Linked DNA regions of Homo sapiens: all the other regions are linked to region 1. The links are contacts of gene promoters, found by promoter capture Hi-C in blood cells and fetal thymus (Javierre and others, 2016). All regions are on one chromosome and are shown on one strand. Each heading gives the region's core, a stretch centred on a gene start or on the middle of the fragment in contact. The rest is flanking DNA. Distances are from core to core; before and after follow the strand shown.

The links. Contacts are between HindIII fragments. The CHiCAGO score rates a contact against its expected background, and 5 or more counts as called.
Region 2: the fragment with the promoter of PELI2 here is called in contact with the fragment with the promoter of CDKN3 in region 1 in 2 of 17 cell types (total CD8 T cells and non-activated CD4 T cells); the score reaches 6.1 in total CD8 T cells.
Region 3: a contact is called between a fragment that was not itself captured here and the fragment with the promoter of CDKN3 in region 1, in 1 of 17 cell types (M1 macrophages). The highest score is 5.9, in M1 macrophages.
Region 4: a fragment that was not itself captured here is called in contact with the fragment with the promoter of CDKN3 in region 1 in 1 of 17 cell types (fetal thymus); the score reaches 7.8 in fetal thymus.

What each region holds. Positions count from the first base shown.
Region 1 is chr14:54,395,138-54,398,766 of GRCh38, reverse strand. It overlaps CDKN3 (cyclin dependent kinase inhibitor 3), which reads right to left and starts at 1,760. Exons shown (of 8, transcript NM_005192.4): 1 at 1,690-1,760. The coding sequence starts at 1,698. The HindIII fragment of the contact is 7,211 bases long and covers 1-2,071 here.
Region 2 is chr14:56,117,026-56,120,514 of GRCh38, reverse strand. PELI2 (pellino E3 ubiquitin protein ligase family member 2) reads right to left here and starts at 2,104. Exons shown (of 6, transcript NM_021255.3): 1 at 1,778-2,104. The coding sequence starts at 1,854. RefSeq lists silencers at 1,627-1,696, 1,987-2,246, 2,287-2,346 and an enhancer at 2,477-2,716. The HindIII fragment of the contact is 3,737 bases long and covers 518-3,489 here.
Region 3 is chr14:53,210,936-53,214,429 of GRCh38, reverse strand. The region is part of intron 5 of LOC105370502 (a long non-coding RNA gene); the gene reads right to left. Among named protein-coding and RNA genes, the nearest start is that of DDHD1-DT, 59 kb to the right of the region's middle. The HindIII fragment of the contact is 1,664 bases long and covers 1,041-2,704 here.
Region 4 is chr14:52,553,080-52,556,546 of GRCh38, reverse strand. It overlaps GPR137C (G protein-coupled receptor 137C), which reads right to left. Exons shown (of 7, transcript NM_001099652.2): 1 at 2,956-3,467. The coding sequence starts at 3,399. Among named protein-coding and RNA genes, the nearest start is that of GPR137C, 2.0 kb to the right of the region's middle. RefSeq lists silencers at 3,242-3,441, 3,452-3,467. The HindIII fragment of the contact is 495 bases long and covers 1,970-2,464 here.

The DNA of each region.
Region 1 (3,629 bases), core at 511-3,010:
TCGTATGCTGATCTAAGCAGTTGGAACTTAATCCTGCAGCATTTTGACATGGAAGACTTCTACACTCCTTGTTGAAATTTTAAGGAATCAAAAGAAAAAGAAAAACAAAAACAAAACAGAACAAAACCCATACCCTTTTCTCACTCCCTAGTTGAAACCAATTGAAAGATAAAGAAATGGAGTTTTATTATTGTATATCAAATGGAGTATGCAGCTTAAAGCTGTTGCCACGTGGGCTTGCCCCTTGTTCACCCCAGAATTAGACAAATGTATCCACCCAGTCACAGGTGGCCATGGACAGTCTGGGGCTCCTGTGTGCCAGAGAGTGGACCAGAAAGCACCTTCTGCAGGCAGGCAGGTAGATCCCAAGAAAGAAGGAAAGAAAAAGTTGAGATACTGGTGTTCAGTTCCTTCCAAACTCGGGGATCAGATAACTCAATGGGGACAGGTGGAGAAAGAGGCCAGGAGTGAAGGACAGCTGATGTCCCTCCACATGGCAACATAGGGATTAGCAATTGTAAGCACCTAATGCTCTTTCTAGCTCTGAAGCTATATTCTACAACGGTCTTGGTACTAGAAGATCACAGGACGGCTAATTTAGGCTACGGACTTTTTTTTCTTTCTTTCTTTTATCTTGAGATAGGGTTTTGCTCTGTCGCCCAGGCTGGAGGGCAGTGGCGTGATATCCGCTCACTGCAACCTCTGCCTCTTGGGTTCAAGCTATTTGCGTGGCTCAGCCTCCCGAGTAGCTGGGACTACAGGCGTGCACTACCACGCTCAGCTAATGTTTGTATTTTTAGTAGAGACGGGGTTTCACCGTGTTGGCTAGGCTTGTCTCCAACTCCTGGCCTCAAGTGATCCGCCCGCCTTGGCCTCCCAAAGTGTTGGGATTACAGGCGCGAGACACCACCCGGCCCTAGGCTATGGATTTCTGTTGCTTTGGCTCTATCTGAAGTATTATAATCAACTGCACCCAAAGGAAAGGCTTCCAGTAGGTTGTCAAGCCGGGCAGTAGGAAATATGGGTTAGGTGGGGGATCTTCAGCTCCTTGCCTGCATCTGTTTTTTCTTTAAAGCAACTTTGATGATTCATATTTCAAATTTGTGTGGCCCATTCACCAGGTTTATTAATCCTAACAGAGCTGGACGTTTCTGCTTCCCCAGGCCCTGTGATTCTGAACGTCACGGGAAAAGAGCAGCATTGCCAGGTGGCCCTGGGGCATGGTGACAGCGGTGGTGTCGCCCACAAGCCGCGGCGTGGCATTCGTACTCAAGGTTTCCCCAGGCCCTGTGGGCGCAGGTAGCGCCCGGCCACCCTTCGGGGCTGGGGTATCGCGCCCACTCATCGCTGACACTCAAGCTCTTCGGCTCGGTTTCCTCGGTACAACGAGGCTCGGCCCTCTTTGGCTGGGCGGCTGGGAGGCTTATGAGACCCCGCAGGGGACAGGTGACAGCCCACAGCAGGTGCACAGCGAATGTCCGTCTTTCCTTCGTCGGCCACCGACCCTGCTCCTTCGTCTCTCGTGCCCGTGCTGGGCCCGTGCGAGTCACCTCCCCGACCCGCAGAACGGTTACGGCGCCAGTCGCACTGCTACCAGGCTAGGGCTGCCCTCCGGCCCAGGATCGGGTCCCCGGGACCGCTTGCGTCCCTGCCGCCTCGCTCCTCCAAACCCCAGCACGTCCGACTCACCGGCTTCATCGCTGGCCGCCCCACGTCGAGACCAGTGCCGCCTCCCTCTGCAGCGCCGGCGACTCACCGGTGCCCCGGCCGAGCCCGCGCCCCGCAGCTTAGCTCACTGGTTCGTCCTTCTGTGAGGTGGGCGCGGCGTCTTCCAGCAACCAATCAGATCCGCTTCTGGTTTCTTACTCCGCCTTTGGGTGGCCGAAGACTCGGCCTCTAATCGCTGACTGGTTCCTAGAAGACCTTTGAAAGACGCGCGGGAGGCGGGCCCTGTGGGACGTTGATTGGCTGGGAGGGCGCCCTCCTCCCGCCAGTTGGGAGAGTGCAGGGGGCGGAGGCGGGGCGGAAGAGTCAGAAGGCGGCCCTAGCGCTTGGGGGACGCTGGAAAGCTTTGCTTCTTGATGGCAGGATGTCAGCGTGGTCCATACGGTTGGGAGGTGATTTTTTTTTTTTTCTTGAGACGGAGTTCGCTCTTGTTGCCCAGGCTGGAGTGCAATGGCGCGATCTCGGCTCACCGCCACCTCCGCCTCCCGGATTCAAGCGAGTCTCCGCCTCACCCTCCCGAGTAGCTGGGATTACAAGGATGTGCCACCAAGCCTGACTAATTTTTGTATTTTTTGTAGAGACGGGGTTTCTCCATGTTGGTCAGGCTGGTCTCGAACCCGGGTTGGGAGTTTTTGTGTTTGTGACGGAAGTCTTACTATGTTGCCCAGGCTGGCCTCGAACTCCTGTCCTCAAGCAATCCTCCCGCCTTAGCCTCCCTTGTAGCGGCTACGGTAGGGAGTTTTTGTTTCTTTAAGTTGTATTTTTATTTTTTATTTTTTAAGGGCTCAGGGAAGCACTGTATTGGATCGTCACATGAAAAACATCACATAGACTTTGTAATTATATCTAGACATACAAATACTAGGGAAAAAACTAAAAATTTAGAGTATAAACATATTTTATATGCTTGAAGTTTTAGTTTATCGTTCCAGAAACTAGACAAGTTACAGTGTAGATCAATATTCCTGTCCCCCAAATATGAATTAAATTATATTGTGTGAAAGGGAAATTATAAAATGCCAGGTAAGATAGGTCTAAGGGCCAGTGTGTCTACATAATTAGCTGTAATCTTTTAAAAATGTGAGTATTTCTCCGCCTTCTCCAGTCCCCATTTAACTAGCCATGGGAAAGGAAGTCGCCTGGAGCAGATCTGAGAAAAATATGCAGAAATTTCAACCCCTGATTCATGTTGTGAAAGCCAATGGGTATAGAGCTATTAGAAGGAATTCCTTAGTAAAGAAGGTACCACAGTTTGATTTAGAGACTGTATTAGCTAGTCATGGTTGCCCAGAGATAAAGAATGAATAGGATGTGTATATATGGATATAGAAACAGATTTATTTTAAGGAATTGGCTCCTGTGCTTGTGGAAGCTTGGAGAGTCCAAAATCTGATGGGGGGAGGCCAGTGCGCTGGAGACTCAGGAAAGGCTGTACTTCGAGTCCAAAAGCTGTTGTAGAACAAAGAAGAGCCAATATTGCATGTAAAGTCTGAAGGCTGTCTACTGGCAGAATTACCCCTTGCACAGGGCAGGGTCAGCCTTTTGTTGTATTCAGCTCGTCAACTGATTGGATGAGGCCCATCCATATTATGGATGGCAGTCTGCTTTACTCAACGTTTCCCAATTTAATGCAAATCTCATCCAAAAACACTTTCACAGAAACATCCAGAATAATGTTTGTCCAAATAACTGGGCACCATGGCCCAGTCAAGCTGATGCACAAAATTAACCATCCTAGACACCCACAGAGATTTTCCATACTCGGGAAATCCTTTTAGATCTGTGCTGTTCAATATGGTGACCATATTGGCTGATTATCTCAGGCCAAATTAGAAAACAAAATCAAATCAAAGGCCAAATTAGAAAACAAAATTTTTGTGTGAACTCAAGGGCTACTTGGGAAA
Region 2 (3,489 bases), core at 855-3,354, 1.7 Mb before region 1:
AACGTTATATCCCGGGCTCCTGTGGAGTGAGACTATGATACTAGGACAATCCAGGGTTTCAATCCTTTCCGTGGCTTCGGAATGCCCTGCACTTCCAGCTATGAACACAAAACCTCTCCAGGCCCACTCGCTGCTTTTCTGAAACATCTCAACAATGATTTCCTCAAAAGGAAATAATGAAATAAAGTTCTGGCATACGTTAATCTTCCGCGTCAAGTTCACAGTGTTAAACACACTGAAGCCAGCCACACAAACAAAACCAAACTCCACAAGATTAGGTTGGGCTGAAGTTACATAAGACAGACTAAACTGCGGCTTTTCTCCTGTCATTCCTCCCGCCTTCCTGTGAACCCTGATATTTGTCTTTGAAGTGCAATTAAGATGTAGGTGAGAAAAACACTTATCTGCAAACAGCTTCAAAATAGGTAATGAGATTTCCAATACCACCCCCACTTAATGCACTAGCAACAAAGTCAGGAAGACTGGGAAGCTTTGAGTTGTGCGGTGTCTGGAAGCTTCCCTCAAAAACTCCTCTCTTTAAATTATTTTTAAGTCAGCACTTACTTCAAGGCACTCACTTATCAAAACACGTTTTGCAAAGTTCCCTGAGTCTTCCCACAGCCATGACTCCTCATATGTGTGCTAAGCCTACCTATCAGCGCCGAGGATGTTCTGAATACAGGTCTTTCAACGCAGAAGGACAAAAGCGCGGGTTCCCAGAGCGACACATCCAAAGGAAAAAATAATCCTTTCTTCAACACTAAACCCAAGTTGTTCCTTCCCCCCAGTTTCCTGCACTTCCCCCTTCCCCCTCCCCTTTCACTGCCCACTATATCCAGTTTTAAGCCCGCAAAGCCTCTCTCCTGGCTTATTAAGGGTAAACAATAGAAATGTCACAAGGAAACTCAGGAAGTAGATGAAGTCTCTAATTGCTGCCGTTTAACGATTGTACATAATTACTATCTTCAAGATGCGGCTTTCACCAGCAGAGAGGGAGCCGAGGCGGGCGAGGCTGGCGAGCTCCCCGCAGCCGGGAGGGCATCAGCGAGGCCGGGACCGGGGGGATACGGCCCGCGCCCCGGTGCCAGGCCCCGAGCAGCCGCATCCTGTCCCTCCCCTCCAGAGCACTCCAAGCGGGGAGAAGCGGAGGGCCGGCCGGCCCGGGTCACACACAGTTCACTGCTCTCGGGCTGCGGCGGCCCGCGGCGGTCATCGGAACAATTTGCAAAGCGCAGCCGGGGATCCCACAGCCCGCGGCGGCCCAAGCTCACGGCGCCGCGCTCGGAGTTCGGGGGCGCGGGTACCACGGTCCGCGAGGGAGGTGGGAAGACGGGGCTCCGCGCCGGCCGGCCTCTCAGCTTCGGGAAGCGACCCCGCGAAGCGCCCGCGACCGCGGCGCCTCACATGGAGTCCCTGCCCGCCCTCCCCGGCCCGGACGCGGCGCGCGGGAAGTGGAGCCCCTGCCCCCGCCCCCACGATACGGCCGCGGACCCGGTGCCCGGCGCTGCCCCCGCTGGGTCGCCCGAGTTCTGGCCACTTCCTCCGCCGCGTCCTCCGCGCGGACAGCGCAGCCCGGCGTCCGCCGCAGCACCCCGAGCGCGCGCCGATGGGGCGCATCCCGCCCCCGCGCCGCCGTCCGGGCCCTGAGAGCCTCTCCTGCCGCCCCGAGCGCCCCGGCGGTCCCCAAAGAGCACCGAGCCACCCCGCCAGCCCCGCTCCAGGATGCGGGCGCTCCCCGCCCGCGCCGCTGCCCGGGACCAGGGACCCCAGGACTCACCCGAGCACCACCAGCTCCCCGTATTTCACTGGCTCCTTATTGGGGGCGCAGTGTTCCTCCTGGCCAGGGGAAAACATGGAGCCCCGCTCGGCCGCCGACGCCGCCGCCGACGCCGCCGCCTCCGCCGCGATCCCCGCCGAGTCCGCGCCGCCGCTACAATCCCATCCCGAGAACGGGGTGAGCGCGCCGGGGAAGGGCACGGCGGCGAAGGGGGCGCGGGGCGGCCAGTCCCGCTGCTGCTCCGTCGTGGCTGCGCGGCTGCTCCGCCTGACTCCCCGGAGCTCCGCGCGCCGCGGCCGCCCCGAGTCAGAGCCGGCAACAAATGGGACCCGGCAGCAGGGGGACCTGCCTGCGCTGAGCGCCGCCGCCGAAGCCCCGCGGGAGGGAGGGAAGGAGGAGGGAGCGGGCGCACGAGAGGCTGGGGCCGCGCGGGGGAGGCGGGGGCCAGCGCGCGGGCAGGTGGGAGCCGCCCCGCCCCACGCAGAGCCAGGCGCCCGCCCCCGGCCCGCGGGGCGCCCCCTCCCCCGGCGCGTGGGGCCGTCCGCGCCCACTCCCCGCCCCCCTCGGCCCGGCGGAGGCTCGGCCCCTGTGTTATGTAAACATAGAGTAAAAGGGAAAGGAAGTTCTTAAAGGAGCAGCTCTGTTTTTTTTCCTCACTTCCTTCCCCAAACTTAGAGCGCGGGGTCCTCAGCCCTCGCCGCCTGGTTCTTCAGCCGCGAAGGCCCGCGGGAGATCCTGGAAACGAGCGGCCGCGGTTCCCAAGCCCACGTTTTCCTGGCTGGAGTTCGATGGGATTAACTTCCTCTCCGAGTAGAATAGCGCTCTCTCGACGTCACTGTGTCCCGGCTTACAACTAGAGGTGTCGCACACACCCACTTGGGTGCCTCCCCTTCCAAAACCAAGCAGAAAGGCGTCTAGAAAATTAGAAGGTTTTGCCAGTTGGTGCTGGCGTAGAGGACGTTTCGAAGGCGCTTGGAGCACCCCACCGTTGCACTGGATGTAGCTACCCCGGCTTGTGGTCAATAGAGCTCCACCTGGCTTTTGGGGGGTGGCGGGGGGATGGGGGAAGAGTTGTTTTTTAATCCATACTTTATCCACTTTTCCTGTGCCTTCTTTCCATCCCCTAATACATACAAGGGGAAATTACCTGGGTGGACTTTTTAGTGAACGTAAATGTTCCTTTATGACCGTGATTTAATCAATGCACTGTTTGCTTTCTATTCTTTTTAAACTAGTTATTGCTATGGCTTTAAAATATCGTAGACTGTATAGTTTTACTGACTGCTGTTTTTCATCATACAGGATTTTATTGTTCTAACATTTATTAAGCACTCATAATGTGCTAGAAACTCTACATATTATTGCGAGTCATTGCCTCTCAACACTGTTAAATATTTAAAGAAATAAATACTGCAGAAGCTACCCTGTGTATAGTGACTGGTTGGCTATGACCCGAAGCAAAGGGCTAGAAAAAATAATAATTGCATCTGTAACCTTCCATTCCGCTGTGCTGCACCCCTTGTGTAACATTCTCTGACAGGTTATTACGGTAGTGACATGATGTTTCTGATAATTTTACTTCAGTTAGGAACTGATTTTTTTAATTGAGGTTTTAGAAATAAATTATTCCAAAGTAACTAAAGCCACACCACTGGTAAGCCAAAAATAAACTTTATTAAACAGTTAACTTATTTCAGCTAACTATAGAAATT
Region 3 (3,494 bases), core at 623-3,122, 1.2 Mb after region 1:
CCATGCTGAGCCATGCCTAAGAGCCAAGCCCCATGCAATACTGTCAGCCGGGCAGTTATACCTTTTAAAGACAACAGCAGCTCCAAGCCAAGAATGAACTTACACAAACAGGTGATAACAAATGGAGTATGAGCCTGCACCCTAAACCCACTGAATCATGCAGGCCTGGATGTCTGCCTTGGCCTAACCTTGACCAAAGAACATCCATGTACCTTACATATAGTTAAAGCTATCAAATTGGATGAGATCTGGTCTATTACTAGCCCCTTACACATGGCAAAGGGAAAAATCAATCATTATGTTCTACAGCAACACCCACATAGTGTGTGTGTTTCCCCATGAGGATACAGTCTACCTCTATCTATGAAGCAGTAGAAAGAACACTCAGCAAGGAGTTGGGAAACATGGTTTCTGTTTCCAGCTCCTACATTACAATGTGACCCTAGGCAACTCATTTAAGCTCTCAGAGGCCTCTGATGTGAAAAGGCTGGATTGTGTGATCTCTATGGTTATTTCCAGCACTGGAATGGGAATTCCCTTTGAACCCTATTTCCTGATTCATTATCCAGCCCTTTTCCTCCCTTCGGTGACCCCCGTTGGCCTCCAAGGTGCCAATTAGCAGTTCAACTTGAGAAGGAGAAAAAGGAAAGTAAAAAATGTTTGCTCTATGCTGGTTATTATGACAAGAAAATATATAAATGGGAAAAACTAACATTATTAAAGTTGTTTGGACCTGGAGGTTTTGGTTCATATGGATTCACTCTATCACAGAAGATCACAGACAATGTAAATTCAGCTACACTCCAAGAAAGACCATTTAAACTAGGCTTATTTAAAGGCAAATAGGGATGTCCCTATGCTTCAGTCTTCCCATGCATTTCTACAGAAATCTTCTAGTTATAACATTCCAATTATAAAAAAAAGTGTTCAGCCAACTTCATAATTTAATTTTCAGAAAAATAAATAAATACAACCAAACACAAAGCTTTTTCTTTAAATGTAATTAATGATCCAATGACCTAAAAGGGAAAGATTAAGCTTTCCGGAACAATAAAAATACATGGATCTGAGCAAAATTTGGGGGAAATTCCTAGTATAGTCAGCTTACTATGTTCAACTTACTTTAAGTTCAAGCCATGACAAACTTCACAGAATGCTACAAATGACCTTTCCTCTGATTTGGGGGATACTTTTTCAATGGTGTGCAATGCTCCTTCCTCTCTTCTCTGTATGGAAAATGCTTGCATCCAGTGTTCTCAAACTTGGGTGATGTGTATCATAATCCCCCCCCACCCTCCCCCCCATGGTGGGCATGTTAAAAAAAAAATACAAAACAGATGGCTGGTCCCTACCCTCAGTTTGTAATTCATTAAGTCTGGAAAGGGCCCAACAAATGGCATTTCTAACATGTTCTCAGGGGATGCAGATGCTGCTGGCCAGGAATCACATTTTAGGAACCACCAGTCCTATGCCTACTTCTATTTGAAAAACTCAGCTCAAATCCCACTCCCTGAGTGAAGATGGGGTAGAGAAGGGAGGGGTATCCCCTGTTCCTTCTCCTCCCAAAAGGCTATCAATAGCTCCATAGCACAGCTGTTTTACATCTCTGGTCCCAATCTGCTCACCAGATCTGTTTCTACCCCACCTCCACCCCACTCCTTTGCAACTTACTTGAAAGGGAGGCCCAAATCTTATTCCTACTTTTATGTTTCTCAGTATCTACAACAGTGTCCACTCCCACCAGATACTTAATAAATGGACCCCCCCTACACACACACAAAATACACAAATGAACAGAAAAATGACTATGAAAGCACTTTTAAAGTCAAAGTGCTATGAAAAACATGTTGCAAATGAATCTGCAACCTAGTTACAATACAGACTTGCTTGTTTGTTTGTTTTTTGAAACGGAGTCTCACTCTCACCCAGGCTGGAGTGCAGTGGTACAATCTCAGCTCTCTGCAACCTCTGCTCCCAGGCTCAAGCAATTCTCCTGCCTTAGCCTACTGAGTAGCTGGGATTACAGGCACCCGCCACCACGCCTGGCTAATTTTTGTATTTTTTTTTAGTAGAGTCGGGGTTTCACCATGTTGGCCAGGCTGCTCTCGAACTCCTGACCTCAAGCAATCTGCCCACCTCAGCCTCCCAAAGTTCTGGGATTACAGGTGTCAGCTACCTTACCTCACCTTAAAATGCAGACTTTGATTCAGAAAGTCTAAGGTGGGGCCTGAGAGTTTGTATTTTTAATAAGCTGTAGGTGAGGCTAACACTGTCTATGGCCCACACTCTAAGTTGCAAGGTTTTATACTGGTGGTTCCCAGCTTTGACTATACATTAGAATTTCCCCATGGATCTCTGAGAATATAGAGTCTGATCCACTTCCCAAATTAAATCAGAATCTCCGAGTGTGAGACCCAGACATCAGTATTTTTAAAATGTTCCTCAGTAATTCTAATGCACAGCCAGGGCTGAGAATAGTTGATCTCTAAGTAATCACACATGATATATTCAAATTACCTTAAAATCTAAACTATGTGTTCCAAACATGAGAGTTTTCTATTATTTATGATTGCATTAATGTTGATTATACCAAATATATCATTTTATTCTCTTCAAATCACTTACTTATTGTAAAATAATGTCTTTACCCAGCATTATCTAAACAGCCAGAAAAGAAACTTCTAACAGCTTTTAAAATAAAGCTTTACTTAATATTTAAAGTTTACTTAATGTTTACTTGAATTTTCTCAACTTACTACCATCTTTAAAAAAAAAAGATCAGTAACTGTTTTATACAATAATTATGATATATATTTTTCTTAGAAATAGGCCAATGTACCTCCCAAAGAAAGTGCCCTCAACATTAAGGATGCCAAGTGTCAGATGTCACAGCATGTGGTCCTAAAAAGCTGACTTCCAGAGTGCTCCATTGTTTTTTGTTGTTTGTTTGTTTTGAGACAGAATTTCGCTCGTTGCCCAGACTGGAGTGCAATGGCGCGAACTCGGCTCACTGCAGCCTCCGCCTCCCAAGTTCAAACAATTCTCCTGCCTCAGCCTCCTGAAAGTAGCTGGGATTACAGGCACCCGCCACCACACCCAGCTAATTTTTGTATTTTTAGTAGAGACGGGTTTTCACCATGTTGGCCAGGCTGGTCTCGAACTCCTGACCTGAGGTGATCCACCCACCCCAGCCTCCCAAAATGCTGGGATTACAGGCATGAACCACCGTGCCCGGTTTCCGTTGTTTTTATAGTCTGTCTTAAAGAAGCAGAGTCAGGTGACTTTAAAAAAATCTATTTTAAGAAAAATTATCAAATAAAAATCCACAGCTACACAGAAGATATATTAGAGAGTGTTCTTTCAAACAAAATAAAGATCTTAATAGCATACCTTTAACTTATAAGTAAGTCACCAGAGTTCCTATAAAATATAATCCAGTCTTCTACTCAATTTCTACCAACTCTTCACAAAGACATCTGTGCCATAATGTAAGG
Region 4 (3,467 bases), core at 968-3,467, 1.8 Mb after region 1:
CAAGGTGGCTTTTCTTTTTTTTTTCCCCCTCTCTCTCAACTATAGGCTTCCAGGAGGTTAAGTATGAGACACTGAGAAGCTTAACTGTTTAAGAAAGGGCTACTTTCCCTCATCTCAATTCCATTCAAGTGTAGACACCAAGAAAAAAAAAAAAAGAAAAAAGGGGTTGAGGCATTTCTTAACTTTTCAAAAACATGAGTTTTAGAATATCCACCAAAATGTATTCAAAGTAGTAGAGTTTGTTTTACTTTTTATACTGATCCACGATTCTTTATAACTAAGTCCTTAAAGCTACTCTTAGTGAGAATCAGAAAAAAACAAATGCTTTAAACAAGTGAAAAGTAATATGGAATTGGTATTTAATACGGCATACAGCAAAGACAGAGTGAGTTGGTAATCAAGACACACGACTATTCAAAAAAGTTATAGGGGCTTTTGGTTAAAAAAATTAAACATCAGTTAAGTCTTATATTTATCACCACATAGGCTTTCCCTACCACTTTGCTATAATATGAAGAACTCACTAGGAAAAACTTCATTAATTCAGAATGATCAATGGGAAGTATACTTGCAGTTATCTGGAACTGACATAAAAATTTGAACTAAAATACTCTCTTAAATACAGGTTCCTGGAGATTTTCTCTAATGAAAAGAGAAATGATTTCTGGTTAAGATATCTCCTTTCAAACAGGCTTTCAAAAAATTGACAATTTGTTCTCTTAAGTACAACTGTGTCCTAAAATTGTTAATTTCATTATAAAAAGAAAGGATAGACAAACAACTCACACTCTTTTTAGCAGGCATTACAAAGGAAAAAAGCTTTATCCCAGCTTCTTTCCAAATTGTATTTTTCAGGTTAATAGAGTTTTATCGTTTTTAAAAAAGCATATTACACAAACATTTAACAGGAAGACTTTCAGATTTTAAATTCTTCCTCACTAGCTTGGAATATTAGCTCAAAGTCTGAAGACCCAATCTAGATACTCCGTGTATTCTATGCTATATAAGCATACCTTCAGAATTTTGAGCTTAAATATATCTCCTTTTTTGGATAGTGTTTACCCACTTTGTGCTTACCTGGGGGAGCTACTGACTGGGAGAGGGTAAAAAGGGAAACTTCTGGGACACGGAAAATGCTTTATATCTTAATCTGGGTGGTGGTAACATGGGTGTATACAGATATAAAATTTCATCTAGGTGTGCATTTAAGATTGTGGACTTTATTGTATATGTTATACCTCAAGAAGTAAAAAGAGTGTTTACCCACTTTATGAAATGCCTACCAACTATTTTACAGTGAATCATTCATATTATTTTGTAAATCAAAATATATAGGGAAAAAACAAGTCATCTGATGCCCCTGGCATAAAAATCGCTAGTCACTTTCAGGTAAACATCTGAACCTGGAGTAAAAGCTTCAGCGTTGAGAAGTCACTAACGCACTATCTGAAATGGTGGCAGGAAGATTACAATGTATCAGTTTAAGTATAAAGGGTAGAAGTGTTATAACAGCTTAAACGACAACTAGATTAGAACACCCTCAAATAAGTGACACGACTATGGCATCATTTGATTTGTGATAACCTATGCTTCTTATTTCCGCTTACTGGTTTGCGTTTTTGTCATTGTATTGTTTGGACTTTCAAAGGATGGAGAAGGAAAATAATAAAAGTTAAATTAGTTTTGTTGTTTTCAACTATTGTTTTTAGTGTGCTAAATAGCTGACATTATGACTGATTATAAAATTATGCATTCTACTTCCTATTAAAGGAGAAAAGAGTTGGTTTATGCAGGAAATATAAACACTTAATATACGTCATTTTTTTTTTTTTTACTTTTGCTTGGAACTACATTAATTCCATCACCTCCAAAAAAGCCTTTGAGAGGATTAGCTGCATAGGCCAATATTATTCTATATTAGTCTGTATTAAGCATATGATGTCACCTTGCTTCCTCCCCTCCTCAAGCTTTTCTTTTGGTGGGAAGGAGGACTTTTTTGGGGGAAAGTCTTAAAATATTATGGCTTAAATACCACAAGCTGACACACATGATTGACAACCTTACACTCCCAAACCTGTTTGAAATGGGTCAAATACCTAAGCGCTGCAGAACAATGCAATCCAACCAGCAATTCCCCATAAAAGAGAAAGGGGGTGTGATTAGGTTCCAGATATTAAGCAAGTTATTGCAAAAACAGTTTGGTGGTTTTGTTTCTGCAATAGGCACAGGTTAAGCTAGTATTTTTTTCTCTTAATTAGCTCCAAAAAAGACTATGCTAATAGGAGGTAGGATAAACCGCTAAAGCACGAAGCAACTGGGGCAAACATTAAGGGCTTTATGGAGGTCCTTATCCTGATCCTCAGCATTGGTTATTGATCATCAACCCTGCTGGGGAACTATCGAACGAAATTTATGTGAGGCTTATCGAGCCACAGGAAAGGAGATGCAGGAGGGAATATAAGCTTCTAATAAAAGAAACGCAGCAACAATAGCAGAGGAACAGCTCTGCCTGGTGACGTAATGGCTGGCAGCAGTCCAGCTTCAGCAGAGCTGCTGCTACCTCAGCATCCAACCTCCCTCAACACAGTCCGGCTTCGGCAGAGCCACCGGGGCTGCTACTTCTTGCGATGCCACTTTGTTGGTGCCACCAACGCCTTACCTCGGAGGGCCAGAACACCGAACAAAGGGTTCGTTCCGTTGCTGTTTTAAGTTGTCAGACACACACACTCACTCACTCACCCCCTAGCCCGAACCCCTCAGTAATCAAGCCAATCAGCCACTTAAGTTTAAGGCGAAAACACTGGCTCACACTCCAGGTGTGCCTCAGTTTCCCCAGGCTGGTTTCCAGTCCGCCTCTCGCTGCCCACCCCCCGCCCCCGCTGGTCCTCAGCGGGAGTTGATCCCGGCGGCCCCGCGCACCCGCCCGGGCCCCGCATGCCGGCCCTCCCGCCTTACCTCCGCCAGGTAGAGGTTGAGGAGACAGAGCGTGGAGAACTGGAGACAGGAGGGGAAGCAGTAGAGCAGCCAGTGGGGGAAGAAGTGCAGGTGAGCGGGCGGCCGGAGCAAGGGCAGGGAGCCGCTGAGCGAGAAGGCGGCGGAGAAGAGGGTGGTCCTGAGCGCTGCCCACAGGAGACAGAGGAAGAGGCAGAGGCTCTGGTAACTCAGCCGCCGCTCGCGGTACAGGAGCAGCCGCCACAGCTGCAGGTAGGCAAAGGCGAACAGCGCGGCGTAGAGCAGGGCGTGCAGGACGCTCAGCGCCAACTGCACGGAGCCCGGCACCGCGGCGCCTGAGGCTGCAGCGACGGCGCCTCCGCCTCCGCTGCCCCCGCCGGGCGTGGAGGGCTCGCGGCCGGCTGCGGGGGCGGCAGCGGCCGCCGGACCCGGCACGGACACCCTCATGAGGGGGCTGGGGGCCGGGCGAGCGAGCGCGGGAAGGAAGGGGCTGGACTCGGAGCCGCCGTCGAAGG